Regions from separate parts of the Homo sapiens genome. Here all the other regions are linked to region 1. Evidence: promoter capture Hi-C in 16 types of primary human blood cells and fetal thymus (Javierre and others, 2016). All regions are on one chromosome and are shown on one strand. Each heading gives the region's core, a stretch centred on a gene start or on the middle of the fragment in contact. The rest is flanking DNA. Distances are from core to core; before and after follow the strand shown. Region 1 holds the start of UCHL5 (ubiquitin C-terminal hydrolase L5). Region 2 overlaps LOC105371664 (a long non-coding RNA gene). Region 3 overlaps LOC105371664 (a long non-coding RNA gene). Region 4 overlaps LOC107985241 (a long non-coding RNA gene). Region 5 overlaps RGS13 (regulator of G protein signaling 13). Region 6 has its middle 19 kb from the start of MIR4426. Region 7 has its middle 4.9 kb from the start of MIR4426.

Region 1 (2,515 bases), core at 12-2,511:
TCATGGCTTCACATAATCTGTAGCACAAGGCTCCCTAACTCCAGGGCACAAGTCACCTATTTGAGAAGGAAGGAGTCAGAGTTTTACCCACTAAAACATTTTTTTTTTCTGGAAGCCAAAGGTCTTTCTTGGAATATGTAGCTTTTAAGGAGTAAATATACACTTAACGACTTCAATATACTCTTAAAAACTTTAATCTTAACACTATAGTATTCTATAAGAGCCTGCTGAATGAGGGCAATTTAGTAAATATTTAGTAAATATTTGGTTTAACTCATCATCCAGTTTTAGAACCATTCCAAATGTTTTTAGATTAATACACGACATTTGTTTTCAACCTAATTTTCCCTTGACGCACCGCATCCCCTTCCACTAGTCTAGCAGCCCCATGGACAAACCTTTCTCCTCTCCCTCGTTATTCCTCTGTGATAAATTCACCCTGTCTTCCCACAAAGATCCTTCTTCCAAAACCCAGATCCCGGGCGACGCCTCTCCGCGCAGAAGCCGCGGGAGAAGGAGGAGAAAGAGGAGGAGTAAAGCAGGCCCTCTCGACGTCGGCCTGTGGGGAGCGATGCCGACAAGCAGGAGCGGTCCCGGCTTCGGAAAGGGCCCACCCTGAGGAATGGTCCGGCCGGGCCTAGCGAGGATGTCCCTACCGCGATGCTGGTTCCGTTACCCAGGGTGGACAGGCGCGGAAGCGGGACGGGGAAGAGCGATAGTTTCGCGGCGTTTGCCCAGCCTCAACCCCTGGGATGCGGGTGAGAGACATGGAGGACTGGTCAGAATTTGCGCGTCCCTGGGGCCGCACAAAAGGCTCCCAGCCGGCCTCCCGCAATGTCCTCACCTGTACCTGGCAGCCGACCCCCTGGATCCGCAGCGCCGCCAGGAGAAGTCCTGCGCAGCGCTGGGAAACGACAAAAGAAGGCAGCCTGACGGGCAGCGACAGCCACAGCAACAGCAACAGCCCCACTGCCGCCGGGGATTCCAGGTTCGGTTCCCGGGAACGAGTCCTGCCCCTCTTCTTTTGCCCCGCCTCCGCCCCAGAGGGGCGAGGATCCCGGATGTTGCCTCCTCGGCGCTGTGAATCACCGCCCTTTCTTCTCAGGCCCCAGCCCTTCCGAATCCGCTACGGGTGCTGCAAGGCCTGGGAAGAGTTTCGATGTCTCTAGGGTGGCTAGAGCGTCCTCCCGCGCTCAGTCGCGCTGCAGGTGACGGCGCCCGGAGGCTGTCGGGAAGTAGGCGGGGTGACGTGTGGTTGACGAGCTCGGCGGCGGGTTTGCTGAGATCTGTGGCCGGCGGCAGCTGGTGCGGGGGGCAGCTGAGAGCGAGAGGTGGATCGGGGCGGTGTGTGGCCAGGGCCATGACGGGCAATGCCGGGGAGTGGTGCCTCATGGAAAGCGACCCCGGGGTCTTCACCGAGCTCATTAAAGGATTCGGTGAGAACCAAGGGGACCGTCCTGGGCCTGGGGTCACGGGAGGAGGCCCAAGCTGGGCATGGAGTGGTTCCCTGCGGCCACCGCCGCCCCGCGTCTGGAGAGGTGACTTCAGGAACCTGGAGTCCGGGTGGGGGAAATGTAGATGTTCTGCCCTCTCCTCAGCTCGAGACAGTCGCGTTTCCACAGTAATTTGTAGAGCCACACCACGAGGGCAAGGATCGTGTCAGTCTTGTGCCTGCTGCATCCTCAGGACCTGGCACCCAAATCCTGTAATTGACTTGAGGGCCCTCGCTCCCCAAGCTCTTAAGCACGTATTGCCCTTTGCACTGCCCCTTCTCTGCGGCGCGCACCTTATCCCGGGCTGGTGAGGTCAAGTGCATTGCTCAGGCCATTAGTCCTGCAGAAGCCACCCTAGGGTGCGCCTTCTCAAGGGTGAGGTGTCTGCGGCTCAAGCCGCCCAGGAACTCGAGATTCTGGTTATTCAAAGCAGAACGCCTTGAATGTGTGAATAGCTCTTCGGGACGTCCACACACGCTGACTGCGTGGGCCTGAAAGGCCACTTCACTGGTTCCGCTCTCTGCTCATTTCTGGCTTCCGGTGAAGTGAGTTTTCTTGAGCTAGTGTTCTAGACTAGAGGCCACATGCTTTCCTCACAGTTTCTCTCTGGCTGTATTTAGTGCCTTTCGTCCTAAATAATCAACACATTTTACTTTTTATCCTTCCCTATTTATCTTGTTCTTAGTCTCTTCTTTGGACAGTACGTTTTTATCTATTTCCCAAGTGTTATTGACTCTACGATGTTAAAACTTTTACGCGGGATTAACAATTAAACGTTGATGTAGATATTGCCTGTTGTACACAGCTTAATATTTGGAATGTCATTTATCAAGCATATGTTGTTCATCTTCTATATCTCAGGCACAGTGGTAAGGATTGGGAAATTTTCTTTTTTTTGTTTGAGACAGAGTCTCGCTCTGTCGCCCAGGCTGGAGTGCAGTGGCGCGATCTTGGCCCACTGCAACCTCCATCTCTCGGGGTCAAGCGAATCTCCTACTTCAGCCTCCCGAGTAGCTGGGATT
Region 2 (2,515 bases), core at 8-2,507, 490 kb after region 1:
TAAGGGGAAGGGACTTGCCTTGTCTCGGATGAGACTTTGGACTTTGAATTTCTGAGTTAATGCTGAAATGTCTTAAGACTTTGGGGGACTGTTGGGAAGGGACACTTGTATTTTGCAGTGTGAGAAGAAACTGAGGCTTGAGGGCAAGGGGCAGAATTGATATAGTTTGGATATGTGTCCCCTCTAAATCTCTTGTTGTATTGTAATCTCCAGTGTTGGAGGTGGGACCTGGTAGGAGGTGATTGGCTCATGGGGGAGGATCTTCATGATGGTGAGTGAGTTCTCTCAAGATCTGGTTGTTTAAAAGAGTGTGGCACCTCCCTCCCCACAACCCTCTCTCTCTTGCTCCTGCTGGCACCATGTGAGACACTTGCTCCCCTGTCACCTCCTGCCATGATTGGAAGCTTCCTGAGACCTATCCAGAAGCAGATGCCAGTGCTATGCTTCCTGTATAGCCTGCAGAACCATGAGCCAATTAAATTTCTTTTTTAAAAAAATAAATTACTTAGTACCAGGTATTTCTTTATAGCAATGCAAGAATGGCCTAATACAGAGGTATGTTTTAAATATTAGAGAGCAACTTCAATAAATGACTGTTAACTTTCCAAGTTTCTAATAACACTATTCCAGTGATTTCATTTGCTTTTGTTCTTACTAAACATCGAGGTGGCTAACAATAGAGACTTATTTGCTTTGCTTTTCCTCATTAATTATATAATTTTCTTAGAAAAATCTCTCAAGATTTCCTGACATGTTCTGTTCTTTCCAAAACCATGCCAGTTATTGCTGACAAACACATTAACTCCACTTTCTTCATGTCCTTTCTAATGCTTTGCTTTTATGTCTATTTACATATATCTATATATATAAAGTGTATACATTTATATAATATGTGTATATAATATATATACCTATATATTTTATTATTATTATTTTACTAAATATTGGTGTCAGACTTACCGGACATTTGTTTGTAGTAATAATCTTCCTACTTGAGAAAGTAGCTCTAAGTCAACAGATAGTGTCCATGCTTAGCAGTATACTACTATTATTGTGAGTACAAGTGGTCTGTGGTGTTCCACTGTTTTCTGTGTCTGTTCTGTTTTTTTTTTTTTTATTAAGCCTTGTCTGCCATCTTATTTGTATTCTATTTTAAAAAATAAATGAAAGGCTTTGATTCTGTTGAATCCCAGTGACATGTTCATCTTGCTGCTTTGAAATCTCACATTTCAAAAGACTGTGAGCCAATTCTCACAGCTATACCTTTTCCTGCTGTGTGAGTTTGATCAAATCAGCTAACTTCTTTTCAGTTTTCTTTGTGTAGAAGTCAAAGGCGATCATCAGCAACTTGCAGCTATGGTAGTGGCATGGGAAGATCTCCTTTTGAAATTCTATACCAATCAAAACTAGCCCCAGAGAAATTAAGATTTAGACAGAATTTGCCATAGCTAGGATGTTTTCCATTTTTCTTATGATGTTAGAGTTCTTTGCCTAGACTTCTTCCTAAAATTTAGTAAATTTGGCAATCCACCTGTTCCAAATGCAGGGCTACTCTTACCACTGCAACTCTGCATTCACTGGGCCAGTCTTCCAGATTGCTTCTTTCCCTATCAATATTTACTTGTCTTGGATTTCCTTTTTTATTTAGTTAGTTGATTTCTGTAAATTAATATGTTAATCAAATGTATAAATGTATGTTCAGATGTTAATGTCACAGACTATTCCTTCCAACTTCAATTTAATTTTCCTGCTTTTTCTTAGGTACTTATAGCTGGATATTGATCCCTCCCAACTGCAGATCTTATCCAGCTCCCTCCTGTTGTGGAGGAATATTGAGTTGTCTGTTGTTTTAGATAGGATTTCCATAGCTGCAAGTGTCAGCAGCCCCACATTGACTGTTAATTAGCTTAGGTAAATAGGAAGATAACTGGAATACCCTTGGGTACCTTAAGTAATAAAAGGAAATGTTGAACAACTAACCCCTCAAAGATCAGCTAAGACTGAACTAGGGGGTAGGGGACTTAGAATGCTTGTAAATTGTGAATTTGCTATAGACCAGAGTCAGCTACAAATTGGGGAAACATGACTGTCAGCAACTTGTGAAGCTTATATTTTGCACTTCTAAAGGCAGCAGAATCCTGAAGTGTAAACAATCTCTTCTTACCCATGTTTTTTCCTCCTGTGTGTTTTGTCTTGCCTATTTTTTTTATTGTGTTATGAAAACAGAAAACCAGGGCAATATATTTGGTAGGAACTCAAAGACAGAACAAACTCATAATCTTGTTTTATGTTTTGTTTCAGATGCTATGGAAGATCAGAAAATATAAATTTATGAACTGCTATAAACTGTTATTTTCTTCGTGAAGATCAGGTAACTTTTGTCTTCTCTTTGTAGTCACTGCAACGTTTTAAGTTCTATTTCATCTGAAGTTGATGTTTTATTTGTGACTTTGTGGCTTATCCCCATATTGGTTCTCTTAAGACCAGGCTCTTAGTTGCAACAGGAAGATCTTAA
Region 3 (2,515 bases), core at 7-2,506, 470 kb after region 1:
CTATAGCTAAAGTAGAAATATATGGATGTGAGCAAAGTAATATTAGTAATTAGTAGGACTGACTTATTCCAGCTCTTCTGGGCCCCAATAATACCAGAGTTTATATTTATTTGTGAGTTACAGAGAATGCAATTCATCCAATGTTCAAGAAGTTCACAAAATAATTTGGCATACTTTGAATTCAATCCACTGTGTTGTGTACCTCTTACTTCTCTGAAGCCATAAACTTCCTTCAGGACAGAACAAACTACTCTCTCCTCTGAGCTCTCATAACACATTTTTCCTGTTTGTCAAGGGAAGGCTGAGATAAACCCCAAGAATTCCACAGGAGCAGAAGGAGAAGGGGCAGGATGTTCATGGTTCTTCAGCTTTACAGCATCCCATGAGGAGGCAGGTGTAGCTTGCCCTCACTGCTCCCCAGTACCTCCCCTTGTTTTTTTAAATAGGATCTTTGGAAGCAAATAGACAGCACCCAGCTGATTTGGTGACAGCAGAGAGAGGGCTTGCAAGAGGAGAAAAACTTGATGTGACTTGATGCCCAGGGAGGTTGCATACAGTGCTGATATGCAAAGTGTCTCCCACTATAGGGAGGAAGAGCCACCAGTCCCATTTGACTTTTTCCTAGGGATCTGAAGAGAACCCCTAGGCAGATCATCTATCAGACAATCTTATTTGTCTCTCCTTTATACCTCTTTTATAATGCTTATAGTCTATTTTACTATAATCCATTTGCCTCCTTCTTCCCAAGAGCGTAGTGAACTTATTTTTGCTTTATTATTTATCATTTCAGTGGGTCTAGCACCTAGTGAGGCTTATGGCACATAGCAGGTGTCATTACTGATAAATATGTTAATTTATCAATTAATAATTAGACTCTTTTCCAGACTACTTTAGCACTTCTTACTACCCCCATAGAAAGTATAAATTGTAATCAATCTAGTCAAAATTATGCCAAAGAAACATTATAGGAAGTATCTTATTTAGCTCTTCCTATGGGAACATGTTCTACGTATTACTTCTTCATAGTGGGTCATTTGTCTCATTAACTGACAGATTTAAGAAAAAAGCACTAGACTTCGAGTACAATCTGTTTTTATCACTAATTCATGCTGAGGGTTACAAGGCAGGGGATAAAAGATGAAACCAGAGCAGAATGTGTTGATCTTACTGACTTAAACCAAGCCTACTGAATTTTTCACTTTCTAGGTTTGACTAGAATAGCAGTACATAGTTTAGGGGGATGGGATAATATCTGAAATTTACATCATTCTGATTCCTTTTCTCTATGTAAAAATAAAGGATAAAAAAATCTTCACTCATTTTGAGGAGTTAAGGCAAAGATGATTGAACTGAAAAATGTGCCGAAAGAGTGACTGGCTACCTTAAGTCTTCAGTCCTATTTTTCTCTCTATTGACAAGAAGTGGGCACTACCATCATCCCATCAGTCAAATAGACCCACTTTCCACAGGAGGAGGGAGAATTCCTGCCCCACTGTTGATTTCAACACAGGCCTCCACGCTGTCTACTGCTGTGGGTCACCATGATGGTTTTGTTTGTGTTTGACAGTTTTTTTTTTTTTTTTTTTTTTTTTGCCCATCTCTTGGCCTGAATCCTAGATTTTGGTTTTGTTTCCTGTCTGTAAAAGGTGCTTTGACCTTACAGCTATTACTTGCTGCAATTCTTTTGAGTTTCTTGATCCTTGTTTTTTGTTCTCAGCCTGGATTGTGTCTTGCAAGCCTCTGCTTTTGTCCAAGTTAAAAGTGAGCTTTGAGAGAAAACATGTGGAATGTTTCATATACATGGTAATTGGAATAAACCATTGTCTACTGAAAATACTGCATAATTTATTTTGCATGTGGAAACTCTTGAAAGTGTGTGCCTTAATCTTCCTCCAGTGCTACCACATTCTATTTCCACATTGTTTAATGAGCATTTGTAATGGAAGGACCTCATCGACAGTATGTTAGAGCAGAGGACATTGCTGTAATTTTGGGAGCCCAGCCGAATCACCTCAAATGTATCCTAAATTCTCTCTATTAATTATTCGTCGAAGCAAATTGCTCACCAAGTATTGCCTATTCGCCCTGTCCTTCCCATTGCCTTGATTACTGCCCTATTTCAGGCTCAGATTCTCATTTGCTGGGCTACAAAACCAGCCTCATATTTGGGTTTCCTTCCTCAATTATGTCTTCTTTTGCAAGTGTCTTTCATAGTTAATCTAGAATTACCCTTTTTAAAACACAAATAAATCATCTCCCTTCCATGAAGAATCATGACATAATGGGGAGTCTTTGGAAAGATACAAACCTAGGTTCAAATCTTAGATCTGCCATTCACTAGTTATATGTTGTTAGATACTTTTTTCCACTTGTTTCTGCATTTGTGGATCAATAAAATGAGCCTAACAATACTCACCTCAAAGAAGTTTAAAGTGGATTAAACAGATAACACATGTATCCAGCACAGTGCCTGCCCCATAGTAGACATTCAGAAACAATTAAGACTTTATTCTTT
Region 4 (2,515 bases), core at 8-2,507, 430 kb after region 1:
GCTTTACCAAAGGAGTCTCCCACTTTTCTCATTCATGCTTCAAATGCATATGTGGACATAGCATTCAGACTGATGTAGTAGATGCTCAATAAATATTCAAAGAATAGATGGATATAGTTTTTTTTTCCCAACAGGATTTATCCAAGCTAAAAACTACCCTAATGTTCATTTTAACCAATTTTCACTTAGATAAAAATTATAGGGTGAAGTTTGGGAAGGATTATATTGTACAAGCTTCCCATATCTCATACTTTCCTAAGAAGTAGTTCTGCCTCTCTGACTGTAACCTTTTTGTAACCTATAATTTGTGTAGTGGTTAATGAGATATATCTGGAGATGCTTTGTAAGTATAATTTACACAAATATATATTTTTATGAGGCATGCAAATTTAAACAATGGTGTCCTTGTGACTTAGTCAAACAAGGAACTAGAATAAAATACAAGGCAAATGTTTTTCTTTAGGATTATGACACTATATCTTAAAACCTCTGAAAGATATGATAATGCAAATAAGATTAGATAAAACAAGTTTAGTTTTGTAGAAAAGGCAAAGAATTTTAAAAATTGCAATCCCAGAAGCTTCAGAAACCTACTTTGGTATGCTTTCCTCCATACAAAAAGTGTTGTTTAATTCCCCCTCAAGTCTGAATATTTGAGGAGTTGCTTTAAGAACTGTAAAACTAGTGCATCAACTACATGCTTTTTGCAGATATGGAAAATATTTTCTTAAAACATTTTTACACAAAGGAAAAGTAATTTTGCCCAAAGAAAATAACATCCAAAGGAAAATGAAGAGTGATTGGTGTTATAAGAAATATAATCCTGGAGGCCTGGAACTACATAAGGCATCCTGAATGTACAGCGTGGGGCCAATAGAGATTACACAAATGATTTTTATAGATGAAGCTGAGCAAAGGGGCAGAATGGGAAGAAGAACAACGGGGACCGAGACACAAGAAGGATGACTTTTGTTTGAAAAAGAAAATGTTCAGGGCATTAAAAACACATGCCCTTTTTTTACCCCATAACATTTTCAAACACTACAGAAAATAATATCTAATAAACCGTGAAGCTTGTTTTAACTCTTTTAAAAACTTCCAAACAAAGGAACTTAGGAAAAATGGCATTCTAGTTATATTTTCCCCCAGATCAGTGGGAATTTATTTCATCTTATTGCTTTTCCAAGTGAGTAGGCAGAAAGTAAATAGAAATGTGAAATTTGTATCGATTGTTTGCTTTCCTTATAACCTTTGCCAAAGAGCTTTGTGAAGGCAACTTTTCTAATAAGGAAGGTATTTTTATATTTAAATGTTGGTTGTCTGTGTAGGAAGTGGAAGAGCTTGTTTCAGAGACTGCTTCTCCAACCCCATTTTAAAGCAGAAGTTCCATCACGGACATTTAGAGGTTAAAGGAAATTTAGATAATCTAGTTCAAAGCTTTCATGTAATGAAGAAAGAAATTGATCTCTTGTGCGTTGCCCTGAGCCACACAGTAGCTGAGATATAGCTGAGTCAAAAACTCAGGCTGCCTAACTCCTGCGTTCTGTGTACTTTAAGGTCCTCATTCCCTTTCTGGCTTACTTCTGGTTGAAAATCAGATAATTGTGTATATCTTACATTCTTATCTCAGTTTAGGTAACAGCCTAAAGTTTTTAGGCCCTTGTGTCTTTGTATCTATCTCCTCTTCTTCTTTCTCTACTAGAAAAACATGTGACAAGATGCTGTGGTTACACGAATTCTCCCCTACTCTTGCTTTATTTTATTCACTGTAATTTATTCCATGTTGAGACTCTGGTCTTTTCTCTTAAGTGGTATTAACATGGTTTCTATTTGAGTTGAGTAAATGGAATATTATGCTTCTGAATCTAATTTTTCTGCCTCAAATGATGCAATTTGAGCATCATTCTTTAAAGACACACGATATATGCTGCCTTCTTATAATGAAATATCTGAAAGAAAATATAGATTAAAGAATGATTATTATCATTGAAAATGATTTATTTTACAAAAGAATTCTATAGGAATTCCATTAGTTAATTCTTCTAGTTTAAATGTCTGAAATTCAGTTTATGCCCAGTATTCAAGTACATGACATAAAGCAAAATACATTGGCTTTATACATTTTATGAATTTGCTTTATGAATTTTATGCATATTGAATTTGATGATAATTAAAAAAACACCCAAGCTTTTCTAAACAAAGAACTCCAGCAGCTCAAAAACACTTGTTTTATCTGATAACATAAATAATAATGTACTTAATAATATATTTCTTATTATTTTATTTTCACTTTCTGCCAAGGCCCGGGGAAACATTTAAATTGCTTATGTGCATGTTTAGAAATACACCGGAAAATCAAACATGCCTAAGAAAAAGGGGTCAAAAAACTATTGTGAAACAGTGGTAACTAAGGAATATTCCACTTAGATCTGTTCCAAGTCAAGCAGTGTTCCAAAGGGACCAAAGGGACCATGTGGCTTTATTTTTAGGCTGCAGTTCATTGACTCAGGCTGTC
Region 5 (2,515 bases), core at 10-2,509, 410 kb after region 1:
CATTATGTTTCATATAAATAACAAGAAAATCTTTGATATTTAAATATATAAAAAAAATCTTTCATATGTAAAAAATTATTTGCAAATAATGTAGCATTAAATAGCATTATCTAAAAGGTATCTAAGTTGCTAACATTCTTAATTTCTAATTAACTTTTGGATTTTGCCATACTTCTGTTCTCAAACTGATGGTTTTCTTGGATCCCCTTTTCCCACTGAGATGTTGAATTTAATTGTATTTTGATGACTATGACTTAATGGCTCCCTAAAACGTCTCTAAACCAATTTCGGTTCATCTATTGAGACCCAGGCTGATATATTTCTTTTTCATGTGTGTGTCTGAGCTACTGTCCTTAGAAATAATGTTTTAATCTATGTAAAATATGCATCTGCATATCTCAGCTACAGCATGCATTTGACTAATGTCCTTGGTTAATGTAAACACATTTTTATTCTCTGGCACATTTAATATTTGTATTTTTAGTTTTGTCTTACTGGTTGGATCATCCATAGAATGATTCGTTTTATTACTTATTATGTGATTGTTGAATTTTTATGTGAACTTCATAGTAATATGATTTCTGGAAAGGCTCTTACCCTATTTTTGCTGGCTTTTATAAAGAGCAGTATGATGTTTTCCTATTCTCATCTTTGCTAGAGCCTTTGCTTATTCTCATGACACTAGAATTCTAAATTGCTGATTCTAGCAAGGCAGATGACCACTTGAAATCCTTGCCAAATAATTAAGCCTATTCATTTTTTTAATAAGGCTTCCAGGACTGGCACAGAAACTTACATAATATAGCTTGGTGTTTTGAACTTTTCTCACTAATATTTTTCTTGTGTTTATTCATGGAACATTTATTGCATGCTCATTGGGTACAAAGCACATTTTCAGTCTCTCAGGGGTTTGAAAGGTAAATGAGAGGCAAGCTGTGCTCTTAAGGAATTTATAATCTAGGGAGAAAGCCACTATATAAAAAACCCAATACACAAACTGGCTACAATTAAAAGCAGAATAAATGTTAATACTAACAAAATAGAAGATAAAGGAGAAATTACTAAGCAGTTTTCTGGAGAAAGTGGCACTTGAATTTGACTTTCAAACATGAGCAGAGTAACTAGAGATGAAAAGGACTTTGAACAAAAGCCTGGAGGAGAAGAATCATAGATGTACAAGTAGAAAATGAAGTGACCCACATTGGTGGAGGGCATGTTATGTGACAGGTCATAGCTAGAGACAAATTTTAGAAAATGTTTTGGGTTAGGGTGTAGAGAGTACTAAATACCAAGATTTTGGACTTGTTGGTAGGCAGCAGAGAAAAAAGAATGATATTCAAAGACATGTACTTTATTACTATTAAAAGAAACTACCAATTATTGTGTGCTTAATCTATATTAGGCATTGAGCTAGATGTTTTGTATCTCACCTGCACAATAAACCTGAAAGGATAAGTGATACTATTCCCATTTTGTAGATGAAGAGTATGAAACTCCAAGAAAGAGATCAATCTAGCAAGGTGGCAAAATGTGTATTACAGAGGATTGGGACAAAAATTTACAATATAGTTAACTGAATATGCACTTTTGTCTCTTCATCACATTTCAATGTTCTAACACTGACCCAGAAGATATATTTGTTTAAAATTCACATTCATGCTGGCAAATTGGATTATAAACTATGAGGAATACCTGAAAAGTGAAAGCCAGTGGCGATTGCATCAAAGAAAGAAACTATGGCCCCAAATGCCCATTGGAAAGGCATGCTACAAAATATGAGAGCTCAGGTGGTGACCCAAGCCTGTAGAGGTAGATCCAGCCCTAGGGATGAAGCAGAAGTAAGCGCCAGAATGGTTGATTAACGTGTTTCAGCAGGAGTAGCCAAGTGTCTACACCTACTGCCATTACCCTCTGGGCTGGGCAGTGACAACTGAGTCCATACTAAAGAGGGTCTTGAGTCAGAAAGAGCAGGTAGTGCCTCAGGACTATGACAACCCCCATGAGGAACAGGGGGTACCTTGCCCAGAATAGCCACTGGTACACCCCACTAGTTAAAGCATGTAAGTAGCACAGCCAACTCTCCTTCATAGTCCATAGCTCTAAACAGATAAAACATTCACAGAGAGGCTAAAATGGGATCTTAAATAAAAAGATGGTTCTATAGGCAAAAATTAACAAGCATTGAGGGGAACCAACTCCATTTAAAAAAAACTACCAAATTCAACAAGAGAATTTTCTGTGTCTACACCCTACATTTTTTTTCTGTACCTGTCTTCTGGTTTTATCATTTTCTACAACGGACCAGCTTTTCTGACCCCAAACGCAATTGACTATTCTTTTGAATGCACGTCCTCCTTTATTTTTCCTGCACTGAGCCCATGACTTTGTCTCTGTCACATCCATTGCTGGTATCTCTTATTTGTACCATGTTAATGTCGATACTTACCTACAACTATATTCAGACCCATGTATAGTCCCACTTAAATCAGACACTGAAAAAGTTGAAACAAACTTT
Region 6 (2,515 bases), core at 7-2,506, 360 kb after region 1:
ATTTTTTTTTTTTTTTTTTTTGCCAGTCTGATAACATAATTTCTGTGACTATTTTAAAGAACAGCTGACTTTAGTACACTGTTTTAATACTTTGCTTCTCTTAACAGGAGCCATTAAGTTGTGAGAAATTTTAGTACTCGAGTTGTGTTGAATTTTTTTAGTTTTCTTCATAGCATAAAACTTCTCCTGAAAAGGAAGAGGTCAATATGGACATCACAGTGGACAATTTCTTGGAAGGATGATTTAGGCTTATTATGAAGCTTATTAGGCTTATTATGAAGCTTATTAGGCTTATTATGAATTAAAACTTATTATTAAGTATTAATGTAAATTCTCATAGGGCCAGGCAGATAACATAAATGAGATAAGTAGGAAGAATGAGAAAGTGTAATACCCTAGAGCTGTGAGGTCTACAGAAATCTGTAGCCCACATTTACGTGGTCCAAATAAATCACTTCTGAGAGCTTCATTTGCTTTTTGAAATTCTTGGTGCTGTCTTGTCTTAAAGCATGGGTCACATTTGAGTAGCGCAGTGGAGAAGGTATCTTCTAAGACTGGGGACCACTATAAGTAAAATTAAGAAAGAAAAATATCCTGGTAAGTGGGGTTGGCTTTAGGGGGTCAGCCACACTGTAGGGCAATAATGTTCAACAAGGGGTGATTTTAAGAGCATGTGATACTTGTCAATGTCTGTAGACGTTTTGCTTATCACAACTGGGGAGGGATGCTACTGGCATCTCATGGATAGACACCAGCAGTGTGCTAACACCTTATAATGCACAGGTCATCCCTTCACAACAGAGGATTATCCAGTCCAAAAGATCAGTAGTGCCCAGATTGAGAAACTCTGCTCTAGATGAATGTGTGTGTTGGGAAATAGGGGGAGGTAAAGTTAGATATTATATTCTGCAGTTTTTGGAGTTTTTTGAGACAGATCTCACTCTTTTGCCCAGGCTGGAGTACAGTGGTACGATCTTGGCTAACCACAACCTTAATTAACTTCCCTGGCTCAAGTGATTCTCCCCTCTTCAGCCCAAGTAGCTGGGAATACAGGCTCATGCCACCATGCCCAGCTATTTTTTTTTTTTTTTTTGAGATGAAGTCTTGCTCTGTCGCCCATGCTGGAGTGCCTTGGCTCGATCTCAGCACACTGCAACCTCCGCCTCCTGGGTTCAAGTGACTCTCCTGCCTCAGCCTCCCAAGCAGCTGGGATTACAGGCACGTGCCACCACACTTGGCCAATTTTTTTTTTTTTTTTGTATTTTTAGTAGAGACGTAGTTTCACCATGTTGGCCAGGCTGGTCTTGAACTCCTGACCTCAAGTGATCCACCTGCCTCAGCCTCCCAAAATGCTGGGACTACAGGCGTGAGCCACTGTGCCTGGGTAATTTTTGGATTTTTTGTAGAGACAGGGTTTTTGCTATGTTGCCCAGGCTGGTCTTGAACTCTTAAGTTCAAGAAAACTACCCGCCTCAGTTTCCCAGAGTGCCGGCATTACAGGTGTGAGCCACCGTGCCTGGCCTGCAGTTTACTATTAAAACACCCAGCATAGAAGGTGGTAGTCAACTTAATCTATACTTTAAAGTCCGTTAGTTAACATGTTAGGTACCTTAATCAGGAATATGCACTCCAGGGATGATTAGTTAGTACATGAAAATTTCTAAGTAGAGGCCCAAAGACCAGAGGCCTGGGCATTCAGAAGGTTTCAATGTCTTTATTTTAATTAATATCAGTTGCCTTATTAATTAGTATAATGGGTGTTAGATATTACTTTTAATCTGTGAAATGAGGGCTGATCAGGCTAGAAATTTGTATGGGCTTGGGAACTGGTGCTTAAACAAGACAGAGCAATCTAGTAAGCCCAAGAAATTACATCCTTTGGAAAGGCATCATAGGTTAGAATTCTGAATCTTTCCTGTGTTCTGTTGTTTATCAGAGGATATTGTTGTGAAACCCTGAACAGAAGGATAGTTAAATTCCTCTATTAGAATCTGCTTCAGGTGAATTTTCCACACAGGCCACTATCTTAGTCCATTCAATTAAAGTATATTAGACGAAAATACTGTAAATTGGGTAGCTTATAAAGAACAGAACTTATTTCTCACAGTTCTGGAGTCTGAGTGGTACAAGATCAAGGTGCTGACAGATTTGGCATCTGGTGAGGGCCCCGTTTCTCACGGATGGTGCCTTCATCCTGTGTCCTCACGTGGTGGGAGGAGCAAGGAAGCTTTCTGGGGTCTCTTTTATATAAGCACCAATCTCACCTATGAGGGCTTTGCCTAAGGCCTTACTGACTCCCAAAAGGCCCCACTTCCTAATGCCATCACCTTAGGGGTTAGGATTTCAACATATGAATTTTGTGGGGCGCAAACATTCAAACCAGAGCAACCACTGTTGGGACACCTGAAAAGCTAAGAGAGATGAGCCTTCATGGAGCTTAAAGAACTGGTGGTATGGCAATTTAGGGGTAAAGTGACTATTTGCATAAGTAGCAGAGTCAGCTCTGAGTCTTGCT
Region 7 (2,515 bases), core at 12-2,511, 340 kb after region 1:
CAGTGGAACTTTTAGATAAATGAAGGCTTCATAATCGGACTTGACTTGATCTACTATAACAGATGAAAAATGAAGCAATATAAGGGTAAATACCAAAGATGGGTCAACTTTTAGTCCGTAACAAAGAACTTCTTCCCATGTTTTGGGGAACATGTGATATTTTGGGGAAGGCTGTCTGGTTTCTGGCTTATTACCTTACGGGCATGATAAAAAAAATCAGGGGAAAAACCAGATATTAATCACAAGTGACACTATTCATAGGTCATTTGGAATTATTTTCCATTATTGATTTGGAATTAGTGATGATATTTAGTTCAGCATTTTTATTACATTACTTTCTCTGTTAAACAATTCTAACATTTGGCACAGTGTATTTAAAAATTAATTATAATAAACTCCAGGAAGCTGACATGATTATTAGTTTCAAGCTTGATTATATAATCTAGTATTGAATAATAGAAACTCGAGAAGTTAGTTTTATAAAAAGAGAATAAATAAAAATATTAAGCATTTGAAAATATTTAATTGGAAACCATAATAAATATTAATATTGAAAGCCTTCCATTAATTAAAACATTGTCATTATTTTAGAAATGTACCATTTTATAGAAGATTAATAAAAAGTATTAAAAATTGAGTTGTGATGTAGTTTTAAGATATTATGTACTCTAGGTCAAAATGTTCCTTTAAATTCTCAAGACAACATAAATCTGACTCACAAAAATATTGTGTGCACTTTTGTGAAAAGGGTACTATTGTTAAAAAATATGAACTTTCTCTCTTCTGGCTATTGTAACATTAAAATATGGTTTAATTTTCTGGACACTTAATTTTCTTTATCTCAGATCCCTTGATTATTACTTTTTTTTTTTTTTTATTTTGAGATGGAGTCTTGCTCCGTCACCCAGGCTGGAGTGCAGCGGCGTGATCTCAACTCACTGCAAGCTCTGCCTTCTGGGTTTGTGCCATTCTCCTGCCTCAGCCTCCTGAGTAGCTGGGAATACAGGCGCCTGCCACCACGCCTGGCTAATTTTTTGTATATTTTTAGTGGAGACAAGGTTTCACCGTGTTAGCCAGGATGGTCTCGATCTCCTGACCTTGTGATCTGCCTGCCTCAGCCTCCCAAAGTGCTGGGATTACAGGCATGAGCCACCGCGCCCGGCCACTTATTACTTATTTTTTATATTTTGTGTATTTACTATAGGTTTTTTGCTTTGTGGTTAACATGAGACTTAAAAATCATCTTGTTATAAGAGATTATTTGAAGCTGATAATACTTACCTGATTATGTTTAAAAAAAAAACAACTCTATACTTTTACTCCACCCCCACCCCCACATTTAAATTTTTCAATGTTACAATTTACATAGTTTTATACTGTTACCCTTAACAAATTATTGCAGCTATTATTATTTTTAACAGTTGTGTCTTTTATACTTTATTCTAAAGACACAAGTGACTTATATACTTTCATTACAGTATCAGAGTATTCTGAATTTTATTGTGTACTTACTTTCTCTAGTGAGTTCTATACTTTCATATGTTTTCATGTTACTTATTGGCATTCTTTTCTTTCAGATTGAAGAATTCCTTTTAGCATTTCTTATAAGACAGGTTTGGTGGTGGTAAACTCCCTCAACTTCTTTTAGCCTGAGAAAGTCTTTATTTCTTCATTTCTGAAGGGCAGTTTTGCTGGGCACCAAATTCTTGGTTGGCAGTTTTTTCCTTGCACTTTGAATATATCATCCCACTCTCACCTGGCCTTTAACATCTCTGCTGAGAAACCCACTGCTAGCCTTACTGTTATCCCCTTATATGTTTTTACTTCCTTTCTCTTGGTGCTTTCAGTATCCTCTCATTGTCCTGATTTTGAACAGTTTGATTATTTTGGTGTAATCTTGTTTGGATTAAATCTGATTAGAGAACTTTGACCTTCATGTACCTGAATATTTATAACTTTTTCCAAATTTGGAAATTTTCTGCAATTATTTTTATAAAATAATTTTTTTACCCCTTTGTCCTTCTCTTCTTCATGCACTCTTATAACTCAAACATTTGCTCTTTTAATGCTGTCCCATGAATCCTATAAGCTTTCTTCATTCCTTTTCATATTTTCTCTGTGATTGCATATTTTCAAATAAATTGCCTTTTAGTTTACAGATTCTTTTCCAGCTTAATCAGTTCCGCTACTGATGCCTTCTATTTTTTTAGTTCATTATTTATAATTTTTAGCTCCAGAATTATTGCTTTTTTTAAAAAAATTTTGATCTCTCTGCTAAATTTCTAATTTTGGTCATTTTTTTTTTTTGATGTCATGAAATTGTTTCTCTGTATTTTTTGAGCCTCTCTGAATGCCCCTAAAACAATTATTTTAAATTTTTTGTCAGATAGTTTACATATCTCCATTTACTTAGGGTCACCGAAGTCTTTTGATGGTGTTATATCTCCTTAGATTTTTATGTTTTTTGTTGCCTTACATTGATGGCTGTACATTTGAAGAAGAAGAGACTTGTTTT

Evidence for each region. The method cuts DNA at HindIII sites, captures the fragments that hold promoters and counts their contacts. A CHiCAGO score of 5 or more calls a contact.
Region 2: a contact is called between a fragment that was not itself captured here and the fragment with the promoter of UCHL5 in region 1, in 3 of 17 cell types (neutrophils, activated CD4 T cells and M2 macrophages). The highest score is 11.1, in neutrophils.
Region 3: a fragment that was not itself captured here is called in contact with the fragment with the promoter of UCHL5 in region 1 in 2 of 17 cell types (neutrophils and M1 macrophages); the score reaches 6.1 in neutrophils.
Region 4: a contact is called between a fragment that was not itself captured here and the fragment with the promoter of UCHL5 in region 1, in 2 of 17 cell types (naive B cells and total B cells). The highest score is 6.2, in naive B cells.
Region 5: a contact is called between a fragment that was not itself captured here and the fragment with the promoter of UCHL5 in region 1, in 1 of 17 cell types (neutrophils). The highest score is 7.7, in neutrophils.
Region 6: a contact is called between a fragment that was not itself captured here and the fragment with the promoter of UCHL5 in region 1, in 2 of 17 cell types (neutrophils and monocytes). The highest score is 9.0, in neutrophils.
Region 7: a fragment that was not itself captured here is called in contact with the fragment with the promoter of UCHL5 in region 1 in 1 of 17 cell types (neutrophils); the score reaches 7.9 in neutrophils.

The regions. Positions count from the first base shown.
Region 1 is chr1:193,058,106-193,060,620 of GRCh38, reverse strand. It overlaps UCHL5 (ubiquitin C-terminal hydrolase L5), which reads left to right and starts at 1,261. Exons shown (of 11, transcript NM_001199261.3): 1 at 1,261-1,436. The coding sequence starts at 1,361. It overlaps RO60 (Ro60, Y RNA binding protein), which reads right to left and starts at 1,009. Exons shown (of 9, transcript NM_001173524.2): 1 at 845-1,009. RefSeq lists enhancers at 110-842, 910-1,439, 843-1,575, 1,600-1,909. The HindIII fragment of the contact is 5,498 bases long and covers 1-2,515 here.
Region 2 is chr1:192,567,003-192,569,517 of GRCh38, reverse strand. LOC105371664 (a long non-coding RNA gene) reads left to right here. Exons shown (of 5, transcript XR_002958418.2): 4 at 2,302-2,371. Among named protein-coding and RNA genes, the nearest start is that of RGS1, 7.5 kb to the left of the region's middle. The HindIII fragment of the contact is 1,701 bases long and covers 407-2,107 here.
Region 3 is chr1:192,584,219-192,586,733 of GRCh38, reverse strand. All of the region lies in intron 3 of LOC105371664 (a long non-coding RNA gene), which reads left to right. Among named protein-coding and RNA genes, the nearest start is that of RGS1, 9.7 kb to the right of the region's middle. The HindIII fragment of the contact is 4,084 bases long and covers 1-2,515 here.
Region 4 is chr1:192,629,800-192,632,314 of GRCh38, reverse strand. All of the region lies in intron 1 of LOC107985241 (a long non-coding RNA gene), which reads right to left. Among named protein-coding and RNA genes, the nearest start is that of RGS13, 5.1 kb to the left of the region's middle. The HindIII fragment of the contact is 364 bases long and covers 1,076-1,439 here.
Region 5 is chr1:192,648,369-192,650,883 of GRCh38, reverse strand. The region is part of intron 5 of RGS13 (regulator of G protein signaling 13); the gene reads right to left. Among named protein-coding and RNA genes, the nearest start is that of RGS13, 13 kb to the right of the region's middle. The HindIII fragment of the contact is 9,764 bases long and covers 1-2,515 here.
Region 6 is chr1:192,696,280-192,698,794 of GRCh38, reverse strand. No RefSeq gene overlaps it. Among named protein-coding and RNA genes, the nearest start is that of MIR4426, 19 kb to the left of the region's middle. The HindIII fragment of the contact is 1,946 bases long and covers 284-2,229 here.
Region 7 is chr1:192,719,937-192,722,451 of GRCh38, reverse strand. No RefSeq gene overlaps it. Among named protein-coding and RNA genes, the nearest start is that of MIR4426, 4.9 kb to the right of the region's middle. The HindIII fragment of the contact is 1,661 bases long and covers 431-2,091 here.